2 separate regions of the Homo sapiens genome follow, and region 1 is linked to region 2. Evidence: promoter capture Hi-C in 16 types of primary human blood cells and fetal thymus (Javierre and others, 2016). All regions are on one chromosome and are shown on one strand. Each heading gives the region's core, a stretch centred on a gene start or on the middle of the fragment in contact. The rest is flanking DNA. Distances are from core to core; before and after follow the strand shown.

Evidence for each region. Contacts are between HindIII fragments. The CHiCAGO score rates a contact against its expected background, and 5 or more counts as called.
Region 1: a fragment that was not itself captured here is called in contact with the fragment with the promoter of AMOT in region 2 in 1 of 17 cell types (activated CD4 T cells); the score reaches 6.1 in activated CD4 T cells.

Annotation. Positions count from the first base shown.
Region 1 is chrX:112,635,391-112,641,425 of GRCh38, forward strand. The region is part of intron 3 of LHFPL1 (LHFPL tetraspan subfamily member 1); the gene reads right to left. Among named protein-coding and RNA genes, the nearest start is that of LHFPL1, 42 kb to the right of the region's middle. The HindIII fragment of the contact is 1,635 bases long and covers 1,646-3,280 here.
Region 2 is chrX:112,836,735-112,842,887 of GRCh38, forward strand. AMOT (angiomotin) reads right to left here and starts at 4,097. Exons shown (of 14, transcript NM_001113490.2): 1 at 3,718-4,097. It overlaps LOC107985651 (a long non-coding RNA gene), which reads left to right and starts at 4,992. Exons shown (of 3, transcript XR_001755993.2): 1 at 4,992-5,134. RefSeq lists a silencer at 4,603-4,942. The HindIII fragment of the contact is 13,608 bases long and covers 1-6,153 here.

The sequences.
Region 1 (6,035 bases), core at 1,213-3,712, 200 kb before region 2:
TGCCAGACCTAACTCAAAGTTCATGATTATCCATTTCAACCATGCTAGGAGAATGAAACCAAGAACACAAATTACTACAGTCCAAGTCTTGCGAGAATATACAATGCCTTCGGCCAATTACTTCACCTTTCTGGACCTCAGTTTCCTTTACTTTCAGTGGAAGGATTTACTGAAGAGAATCCTAAAAGCCCCTTCCAGATCATATTTTCTATTGTAGTATGAATATGATAAGTGCTTTAAGAGATATATTTGTAAAATACTATAGGAATATCCAGGGAAGGAGGAATTATTTGCAGCTGGGAAAATTTGAGCTCAGGTAAGCCTTTGTAGATGCTACATTTCATCTTGGCTTTAGTAGTAGGAAGTGGGCATTCTAGGCAGAGGGAGTGGTTGGCGTGAGCAAAGTTATGTGAGTGAGAAAGCACATGACATGTTTCAGAGAAAGCATAACATTCAGAGCTGTTTCCAAAAAGGAGCTATAGTTGACAAAATAATAAACTGAATCTACACCAGGAGAGGCCATGAAATCTGTCATCTTTCCTACAAGCAGTGTGAAACAATGGAAAGTTTCTGAGCAGGGAACGATACGCTAGAGCAAGGTTTCTCGACCTTGGCGCTATTGACATTTTGGGTTGGACATTTACTTGGTGTGGGGGCAGGGGCAGGGGGCGGTTTTCCTGTACACTGTAACACCCTGGCTTCTACCCACTATATGTCTATAGCAACTTATTCTTCCTCCCCACCAAGTTGTGAAAACCAAAAATGTCACCAGACATTGCCAGATGTCCCCCGGTATGAGGGGAGGTTGCTTTCTATTGAGAACCACTAAGTTAGAGGTATTGCCTGGAAATATTAACCTGAAAGGTCTGTGTCAAATAGATTGGAGGCAAATGGAGGATATAGACAGAGAGAGTTACCAGAGGTCACGGACACTGCTACACATCCAACAATACATAAAAGAGTTCTCCACAACAAAAAATGATCTGGCCAAAAAGTGTCGATATTGTCTACGTTGAGCAATCCTCATGTAGACAAACACCAGATATTTATACTTTAAATTCTATTCAAAATAAATCTTGATGACTAAAAGATTAGCCCAACAGAATGGAATTTCCTCCCTTAAGAACGGCCATGCATGGTTCCTTCTTGACCTGGGAAGCAGACTGGGACTGAGGCATGGTCAGTCTTGAGCATTCTAGTATGTTACCCCATGGAAGGCAAGGGAAGCTCAAGGGGAGAGATCTCACAAGGTATTGAGGAGGAAGCACTGATTCCCTGGGAGTAAGGAGACAGGATAAATATTTGAATAAATGTTTTAACTCCACCAGGTCTCAGCTCTTTAACCCTTAAAATGTGGAAAAATAATTAAGTACCTGGCTAAAGACGTCACATTAAGACCAGATGCGTCCTTAAAGTCCCTTGAGAAACACCAAACTAACTGCTTCCTTGCCTTCAGATTAAATGCACTGACTCTACTTCCACGCTAGAATTGTTTAAAAGTCTGTGTCCTTAGAAGATACTGCAGGGAGATGACATCACACCTAGAAATTTTCTCTATATCCATGCATGGGTGTCTGTGAAGAGAAGGATCGGTGGCAGGATAGGGGGAGAAAAGAGGTTCTAACTGCAAATGAGCTTTATGCAAAGCTTCTGGATGAGCCCTGAGATAAGCCTATTCCTTTTTGTGCTCTTCTGTATCATTTCTAACACTCTATCTGTGAGTCACTGAATTCCAGTGTTGAATTTGCTGTGACAGAATCTCTCATACAAGTTATTAAATCATCACTCAGCAGTGGGCCTGACATTTAAATCAAGACACGTTGCTTTTATTCCAAGTTGCACATCAAATTGGATTGGAATTTGACTCTGTTTCCTTTGATTCAGCACGATGTTATGTTTTACAGCTCACTGTTTAGAGATAAATTGTCACTGGCGGCCACTTAAACTGACCACCCTCCCTAGAGCCGCAGTCCTATGCCCTTCAGGGTTGTGGTGTCTGGCTAGCTGTCAATGGGTCATGATGAGCTATGGGGAGTTAGCCCCAAACCAATGCTTGTGGTGGGATCTAGCATTGCTGTGGGCATCAAAATTATGGACCGGAGTGAGTCAGAATCTGATAGAGTGGCTCCCCCATTCAGGGAGCATGTGCAGAATGCCAGCTTAGAAGCCAAGAATGCTGGAGAGTGAATCCAAAAAAGGAGTTCTCTTTGGAGGAAGAAGGAAACAATGTTGAAAAGAAAGGGCATAAAAAGAGAATGAGGTAAGTCTGTCTTTTGAGTGAGTTGAGTCTTCTCTTTCAGAGAATCATCTGATGAAATTCCAGGCTCCTGAAAGGTTGGAGGAAGAGTCAGGGAAGCAGGGATATAGCAAGCCCATAATGACAACTAACACCTCCAAAACTGAATAGGGCTAGATGAAATGTAATGGAACCTTCAGATATATGAAGATTTAATTTCGCACAAGTGTTGCCAACAGTCATGTTCTGAGAGCTGCTACTGTAGAAGGAAAAAACAAGCATGCTAGGACCCCGGATTATGGTAAGAAGTGTTGGATATTGGTGTGGCAGGGGAGAGGCTCATGAAGATGGGGTAAGAATTGTGAAGTGGTTTGGAGTTTCAGGGTCAGGCAAGAAGGGAAAAATCCATTTGGACAATGTGAATAGTTCAAGGGTGTAGATTGTATTCCACCAGAAAGATAAGATCCAAATTCTAGGAATTATTGGAATTAGAAGACTGGAGGGTGTTTCAGGTAAGGGGCAAAGAGAACAATATTAGCATTTGTTTTTTCGTCTAATATACTCCAATAATCAGGAAGTTTAAGAGACACTGCCCTGGCCTTAGATAGGCAAAAGAAGGGAAGGAATGACACCAAGGATAGAGAAGAACCTAAAATGGGAACCTGCATATCATCCTCAACTTCACCACCCAGTGTAGAGGAGCAGGACAGATATACAGAGAAATCTGCCTGGGAGTGACCTGGGGGCCTTGATGGCTTTCACAGGCTTCCACATATCAAGCCAGGTAGCCTATAGTGGCCCTGAGGACAAAAACCTCAGCTACAGAGAAGCACCTAGGAATCCTTTGGAATTTGATAGAGTAGGGTGTGAGGGGAAGGAATAGAGAGAAATCAAAGAAGAGAAAGGGACTAAAGGAGAATCAATGGGGTGGGTGGAAGATTAGAACAATAGAGATACTAAAGGAGAGTTGATGGGGTGGGTGGAAGATTAGAACACTAGACATAGAGATCATGGCACATGGAGACTGATGGCTGGGGAGGGTTAAGCTTTTACAGACCTCTTCCTATTGAGGGTATTATTTTTTTCTGAAAATAATAAAACAAGTTCAGGAAATAATAAACAAGTTCAGGAAATAATAAACACAGTTCAGGAAAGCCAGCTGTTCTTCTCATCATTGTGGCACCATCTAAAGTCATGAAACCAGGTAACAACCCATCTCCCAAACTACCGTTTGGTACACATGGTAGGGTAAGGGAGGGGTGGTTGCTATTTGCTGACTCAATGCATTTTTGCCATGAAGACCTGAATTTTATGTTAGCAAGAAAAGTAGGGGTTTGGAAGGAGCTGGTGGTCCCATCTATTCAGAGACATACTGCTGACTTTAGGGTCTTTATAGGTAGCAACATAAAAACATTTTTAATGCAGCCAAGCTAAATGAACAGAGAACTTTCTCTGCTAGGTTCAGCAAACACAGATGAATAATCCACAAAGATAAAGCAAAGCCAACGAATTCAAGAGCAATTGCCAAACACCCTACCACCCCCACCCCGGCCCCCAGTAAAAAGACAGCCAAAGCTATGAGAACATCTCTCTTCTCACTCTCCAAGCTGGGCGTGAGTGTCAACAGCAGCCCAGATTGGAGGCCCAGAACCTACTGAAGATTCCAGAAGCCTGCCAGGCTCCTTTGCCAGAGAAGAAGAATAAAAAACAACCCACTGAAAACTTCAGTTGTTCAGGTAAATATGTTATTGTGAGTAGCCACTGACTTTTTGGTCCAGTCAGGTCTGCTGGAGGGGTAGGACATTCTGGGTTTTCAACTTCATCACGGTTCAACCCAATGTTCCAAAGGGTAAGGGAAGACCAGGACACTTGCTAGAAAGTCCATGGGAGTACTCAAAGAAGAGCCAAGTCCTCATGACGACAGAAATGCCCTGATTTGGCTGATTTTTCTTTTCTCTCTCACACACTTCTGCCGAACAAATTGAGTCCTTCGATTAAAATCTTCCTCGCCACTATTGAGCATTAGCTTCCGACCTTTCCTCATGTTTTGCCAACCTGTATTGCTTATTTATATCACTTTTCATATAGCTATCCTGAGTTTTAGCTACTCTGCTCATCTTCCATGTCTCAGGCCAAGTTAAATTGTGCTTCTAGGTCTTTCTCCAGATTTACCTTTAGCTGCCTCTGAAAAACACTTCTGGGTCACCCCGTGTTGCCTTTTATACAGCCTGTCAGCTACACCTGGAGCAGATTCTCAGAAGAGCTTTGGGCGCTCTCCTCAAGGAGACGGGTTAAAACCCATCTGACCAAATATTGGATGTATTCGATTCAGCGCTAGCTCTTGAGGACACTTAGCCTCTAGGAAATTGGTTCCTCTCCCCTAACATCTGCTCAGTAGTCCTCTGCTTGCTTCCACTTGAACTTTCTCAGCTAAATAAGTCAGTTACTGGAATAGTAATAGCTAATATTGGTTAAATGTTTCTATATGCCAGTCACTATAGTAAGCTCTGTAAACATATTGTTTTCTCATAGGTAAGATCAACAAACTAGATGAGTGAAAGGGAGCCAGAAGCAGAAACGGGACAAGGAAATAGACTATTAGTGTGACAAGCGCTCCGATATGGACTGCCACAAGGATATAGGTGAGAGATATCAAATCCAGTTGAAAGGAGCTGGGGAGTTTTCAGGGAAAAATAAGAAGTTAGCTAGGTAAGGAAGGGAAGAAGGGCATTCCCAGCAAAGGGAGTAACACATGCAAAGTTGCAAAGGGGTGGAGGAACATGGTATTTTCGAGGTGGCTGGGCAAGAGAAGAAGACAGGGTGGTGATGGAAGTGATAGCCAGAGTCCCTGTAGGCCTTGCTAAAGAATCTGGACTTTATCCTGAAGGCAATGGGGAACCACTGCTAAAGAAGGATAATGACATCAGATTTGCATTTTAGAAACATCAGTTTGTCCACAGGATGGGAGATAGATAAAGGCGTTGATGTGCAGTACCTTTGTGGAACAGGGAGAGAGAGAGTCAGGGGCTATTTTCAGTAACCTAGATGAGAACTTACATAAAGAGAAGGAAGATAGATTCTAGAGTTCTCATTGTGTGTCTTAGCGTAACAACAGTAATTTACTCCTTCTGACGACACTACACATTTGTGATTGACATCATTATGGCTGCTTTTGTTAGATTCCATCTGTGTGTGTGTGTGTGTGTGTGTGTGTATGGATCATGTCTCCTCAAATTAACTACAGGCTTGTTGAAGACTATATCCTTAAATTCTTTGTAGTTTTTACAATGCCTTATTCAGCATCTTGAATACAGTGAATGTTCAGAATATGCTTTTTGAGTGACTGTTATTAATTTTTGACATAATCCTTGAACATTCAAGAATGCTAGAAAGCCAGACCCAGTGAGCTGATTTACCTCAGGACTCAGAAGTGCATGTTCCCTCATTCTAGCCATTAAATTAGCCCCATACCAGCAATGCCAGCTTTGAACATTAGCTATTTCCATCCATGCTTTATCAGCCAACGGATATACACCACAGAGACTTTTCCAGGTCCAAGGTTCCTGGGTAATGACAAATGCCACAAATAATACCACCCAATATGAGTTTAGTACTTTATCATTTTTAAGGTATTTTGTGATCCATTATCTCATTTATTTATTTTTCATTTGTTTTATTCATTCGTCAAGTCCCAGCCAGAGGCAGGAATTATTATAGAGGAAAGAATCGAACAGCCAGATAAAGTGTCTGACCAAGGTCCCCACTTAGAGAAAATAGAGACTGAGCCCAGGTCTGTGTG
Region 2 (6,153 bases), core at 2,847-5,346:
TAACATGATGACTAGATGATTGAATTTCTAACAACTGTTGCACTTCATTCTAGTAGCAATCATTCACATTCATACTAGATATTGAGGCCTAGAAAGAAAACCATAAACGTATAAGAACTGGCTCTCAAAATTACCCTGTCCAAACCCATAATTTACAGTGGAAAAAAAAAAACTTAACAGAGGTAGTAAACCGAGTTACAGTTGGGCCTAGAGCCCAGGTCCTTCTCACCAATAGGCTCACTAGGAAATCTTATTGCAGATTCTTAGGTTAAAGTGGCATCAGTCGCCATTATTTACTAGAAATAACTTTCTGGATCCCTGGGTTAGTCAAATACAGTAGCTGGAAATAAAACATTTTACCTATATGGGGTGGATAGTCTCATCCTTAGAATTGTTCAAAATCTATAAAGTCTGATTTATTTTCAAAAAGTAATACTAGCTTTCTTCTGCAAGCAGTTGTAGGCCAGAGCTAACGTGGCCAGCATTATTACAAGCCAGAATGATTTAGACAATTAACTAACTCCATTCCATATAACAAAAAGATTTCAAAGGCCAAATAATGGCCTCACTTAATTTAAGCGATAATCATTACAAATTCTTATGTATTCCTTTATGCAATAAATATGCTTCCGAGAAGGCCCAGTTAGAGTGAATTTTTATATATCAAGTCATAGTTTAAAGGCACTAACTAGGAAAGCTAGTACTTACAAAGAAAACCTGTTGTGGATTCTTTTATAAAGCAAATGACCTCCTATTTTCTTTCTTTCTTTTTCTTTTTCTTTTTTTTTGTTCAGATTGTGTGTGTTGTGTGTGGAAGGGGCGACTTCCCTCCTTTCTCTGGGTTAAAAGGGGTCAGAAGCCCACCATGGAGGAGAGTAATGCAGTATGGCCAGCCTGTTTAATACCCCCTTAGTTCCTGGGACAAAATTCTAACCTTTGACTTGGGGGTGGAACCCTAGAATTTGGACCAAAGTCCACAAAAGGCAGCAAGGAGGGAAAAGTAAGTAAGACTAAAGACAACACATCATAGTAAAACACCAACAAAAATTCCTGGGGACAGGAAATCAATGGATCACAATTCTAAACAAATTGGTTTAGTCCCCAGCTAATTAACTTGTCAAGCAGATCACTAAACCTACTGAATCCATGGGAGAAAGAGATGATGTAATAGGAGATTTGGAAACATTTACCCATTTACCATCCTAAAAGGCTCCAGTACGACCACACACACCTCTCCCCACCCCTTTCAGTGTTTAAGCTGGGCTTAATGGGTGCAAAGGACAATTTCTACCAGACAGTCCCCAAGAATAGACTGTTCTCATGCATTCCAAATGCTCAGTCTCCATGGAGGAGGCTACCTGGTCACAAGCATTTCCCAAGAGGGAATATATCCTCTATTCCTCCTCATTGGTAACAACTCCCCCACTCCACCCCCACGCCCCAAACAAAACAAAACAACTTCTAACCATCCTGAGAACTTCAGGGGACTTTTCTGGGGTAAAGGAAAAGAAGCGTTAAGAGGGGAACAGGAAAGTGTGAGAAACCCCTCTTGTCTCCAAATGGAAAAAAAGGCCTTAAAAAGCTGGATCAAAGGAAGAAAGGGGGATGGGGAAGAAGGGCCGCTTAATTACAAAGACACCCTTTTAAAGAAGGCGCAGGCCCTGGGAGAGGGCTCTTGGGAGAGGCACAGAAGCAGATGTACCCACTTAGAATTCTGGCACTCAATGGGACCTCAAGGTCATAGTATCCATCCCCCTGCCTTCTGATTAGGCTATTCTTAAAGCATTCTAGAGTCTGATGCAGTCTTTACAAAACCTCAGAAAGAAAAAGCAACTCTACAAATGTCCTTGTTGGGAATTAGTCTAATAAATCAAACTTCATAAACCAGAAATGAAATTTTAATTTCCAAATCCAAAACTGCATTGACTATGAATTATTAAAATTCCCTTTCTAAAATCTTTTAAATAGGTAAACAGATCCACAAATTTCATGTAAAAGTGACTCCACATACAATTGTGGTCAGAGGTTTACTTCACATCTAGACTGTGAAGGTAGAAAAAGCACTTACAATTTTACAAAGCCACGAACTTTTCCAAGGAAAGAAGTAATTTAAAATGAAGTATGATGTAGTGCCAGAAAGTGTCTGTCAATGACGCCGGATAAACCCATACAGAATAGTTGGAACCTTAGTTATCATCTGTAAATAGAGGCAACTACTCTACAACCACCTGGCTGTTAAAATGTCCCAGGCCAGTTATAAAATGTAGTTTGGTCAGGCCAGCTTTTCCCTCCCAGCTGATCTGAAACAGGATAGCCTTTAAAATTGTCGCCCTTCTCTACCTTCCTACTTTCCTTTCACTCATTAAAATCAACCAAAGTTATTTTAAAATGTATGTTAATAATGTGTTCCCAAATAAGCAATGGGTTAAGGACATCTCAGTAATAAGTCTTTGAACACCATCACTTACAGGCTTGACGCACTTGTCCAATTGAAGATAGGTGGGAGATGGATGAAAATGTATACCACATCCAAAATGGCATTTCAAACTATTCTTAGCTACTAAATGAGGGTGCTGAAAGGTCTAACTGAGAAGGCTTCACAAAGGCTGGCCTGAGAAAGAACTTTTCACAAAGCCTAGCTCAAGGAGACTTAAATATCCTTAGCCCTTCATCATTGAAGATTATGGTGACTAATTATCTTCTTCTCTGAATGGGAGAAGAGGGTTATATTCATAAAAGTTTTAAACTGCCTCCCAACGTCCACTCTTCATGGCGGGGAGGGAGGAGAACTTCATGCACTAAACATCCCAGGTTGTTGAAAAGTTCGTTCTAAAACATACACTAGAGATTGAAAATGCTGTTTCTCACCAACTTTCTCTTTCCTTGCTCATTTAATTCTACTTAGTCCCTTTATGCAAATTATTATATTATTATTAGTGGCAATCTACCAGGAACTGCTCACAGTCTATTAAAGACTGTTATTTTCCCTCCCCCTTTTCTTTCTCTTCATTTTCACAAACCCATGAAGCCCATCTTACTGTTGAAGCACCAATGTGCAGTGGCCCAGGCTTGGACCCTCAAGACACCCTCAAGATCCCCCAAAACTATTTACTAACATCTTTGGATCTTCTAAAGCAGATAGGGGCAACTCCCTCCTCACCACCACTATCACTACCACCACAAGCACTACCACCACCACCACACATCTCAAAGAGTAGCCTTGTTTTAGATTACACAGACTTTAAAACTTCAAGAATTCACGGTCCTACCCCTCCTGCTCCCGCCTCAGGGAGTGTGAGTCCCCACCCCAAGCCTAAGCACTTAGCAGAAACCTATCTAGTTATCTGAGATAAGCACTGACATGCATGCTGGGCTAAATGTAGATTTCAGCTTCCCTCGGGTCTTTAGCTCCTCAATGTGATTAATTACCTAGAGACCCACAAGAACCCCAGGAGGTAAAGAAGTAAAAGTACCATCTAGTAGTGGTACCCACTAGCATCTCCTCACCGAAGTAGGACGGGAAAGCAGCGCACACTCTAACCGATTTAACTTGCTGCACATCCAAAAAAACTCATGGCGAGCTGCAAAGAAAGTAGAACACACGGGCATTCCCACACGCGCCTAGATCGATTCACTCACGCCGAGGGCACGACCAAGTTCATGCCACCATGGATTCCTGCCCCAGTTCCCCGCGAAAAGTAACCACGCGTCTCCTACCCCTGAAGGCAAAGAAGACAAGGTGACGACTCTCTGCTCGCTCAAGTGGCTTCGGTCCCGGGCCAGCGGCCAGGGATGGGCAGGGGGGAAGCCCCAACTCCCGGCTGCTCCCCTCCTCGCTGCTCCGTCCGGGCTCTCCTTGGTGGCAGCGGACAGGCAGGATACCGGGCCAGAGGGTGGAGCAGCGGATAGCCGGAGGCGAGACTGACTGGAGGTGGTGGTAGTTGAGGGGGAGGCGGAGAGAACTAAGAGAAGAGGAGGCGAAAGAGAGCGGAGATGGAGGAGTAATTCAGGGGGTCTACCAGTTTAGGCAGCCAGAAAGCTCCTCGGAAGGAAGGGGCGTGACTGCCAAGGCAGCTCCTGGGCAAAGGATGGGAGGTAGGGGAGGGGGACGAACGGGTGGCTTTTCTTCTTGCGGTGAGCGGCTAGGACCGCCCCGGAGCAGGGCGGCGGGAGGGGTGGACGAGGGAGGAAGGCGGAGTAGAGGGCGGGGAAAGAAGGGCGGGAGCCTGCCTGGACCCTGGAAGTGAGGAGTGAGGGGAGCGCGGAAGAGAGGCGGGGCCGGGGGGCGTGGAAGTTTCAAACAATTGAACCGCGGGGTCCGGGAGCTCGGGCGAAAGCAAGGGACCCTCGCTCTCGCCTTCCCACTAGAGGGGCACGACTCGGTTGCCGTAGCCGTGAGAGTCTGCGCGGGGACTGGCTGGGAAGAAGGAAAGGGTTTTGCAAAAGACTACAATAATAATCTGCGGCAACAGCGCGGCATAGACGCGTGGGAGAGCCAGTGCAGCTCCCCGCCCCACTGCGGGAGGAAGAAAAACAAATAATAGAAATGCTGAAAAGCAGCTTCCACCAAAGCCTGCTTAAAATAATGCAGGAAGGAGAAGCGCTCCTTCGTTTTCCTTCCCCTCTTGCTTCCTATTACCAGCAGGCCCCCACCCAGGTCACAGCTCTGCGAGACACCCTCCTTTCTTCCTCCGCTCCCCCGCCCCGGGCGCTTGCCCCCCTCCCGTTGGCGGGCCGCAGAAGCTGAGGGGCGAGGGAGGAGGGGTCGCGGGCGGCGCTCCGCGGAGGCTCCGCCCCTGGGCGGGCTGGGAGCGCCGGCCTGGGCGGAGCGCGTCCCTGAAGCGTAAGTCCCGCCCACCATTCTTTTGCAGCTACCGGTTGGCCCAGCCTGGCCTAGTATACGCTTGCGATTGGGCCCTGGAGTCGCCAGTCTGATCCCTTTGTCCCACCCGCCCTCAAAATTAATAAAACTAAACAAGAGGCTATTGTGTAGTTCTATGTTCTACCCCAGCTACTGCTGGCAAGAGAAAGATGAGACGCTTTATTTCTCAGTCTCATAAAAGAGTGCAACAGTGTGTCGGCCGACTCTGGTACGCCTTTATGTTTATGGCACTGTCCAGCTTTCTGCGAATAGGTAACTTTTCTTCCCCCTTAGTTTATTAAATCAGGAGGGGGGAAAGTACATGAAGTGTCATTGTGGTGTTCTGCTGACTGTGAAAAAAGCTGACATTGGTTAAAAACGAGAGGGTTGAGAACAGCATCCTGGGACACGGAAAATCTACCATTTTACATCTAGAAAAACGAAGGCACAAAGAAACAGTGTCAGGGTAGCAAAATAACATGGAATTTGGAACCAAAGGAAGAATTCATTTGGGGCCCTGGCACTTACTAGCTAATTGTATGACTTCTGTTAAGTGGCTTAACTTCTCAGCCTTAATTTTTCTACCTGTAAGTAAATGCTGTAAGACATGCCCTATTAACTTAAAGGCACTGGTATGAAAATAAAATGTGTGTGAAAACTATAAAGCACTCCACACATGTATGTGTTCCTACTTGTGTGTGAAACATAATGGAGAGTCTTAGATGTGTTAGAGGATCAATATTTTGCTCATCTGTTTTAAGCATTTACATCCAAGGTCGTGTAGGTTTTGTGGCTTTATTTTAAAAAGTCAACTCTTTTCCTACAATTTTGGGGGTGGATATGAAGTTGACTCCCTGCAGTTAGAATAATAAATTACCCCTTTTCTAAGCAGGGTGGGTGAGATTTCTTTTTTAAAGTTCTACAATTTCATGACAACTTAAAGCTATTGTGGTTCTGGTACTGAAAGAGGAAATCATGCTGTGTATCTCCGAAGTGAACTTAAGAAAACAAATATGAAGGAACATTTACCATGGAAACCACCATTCTCTACAGATCCATATTTCCTAGAAAACATTTCAAGTAGGAAGCAAGCCTAAATGTAAACGCCTTGACAGCGCAAGGCCATTATAATGGCTCATGCCAATGAAAGAGTGACATCCAATTCAAGCCTGCCTAATGGGAGCCATCTGGGGGGCCATGGATCAAGGCATGCAAGAGGAAGTGTGCTTAAAGGAAACACTATCACACAGTAAACAGGGGCTCAGAATCCAACTCTGCAGGAAAAGTAGTGG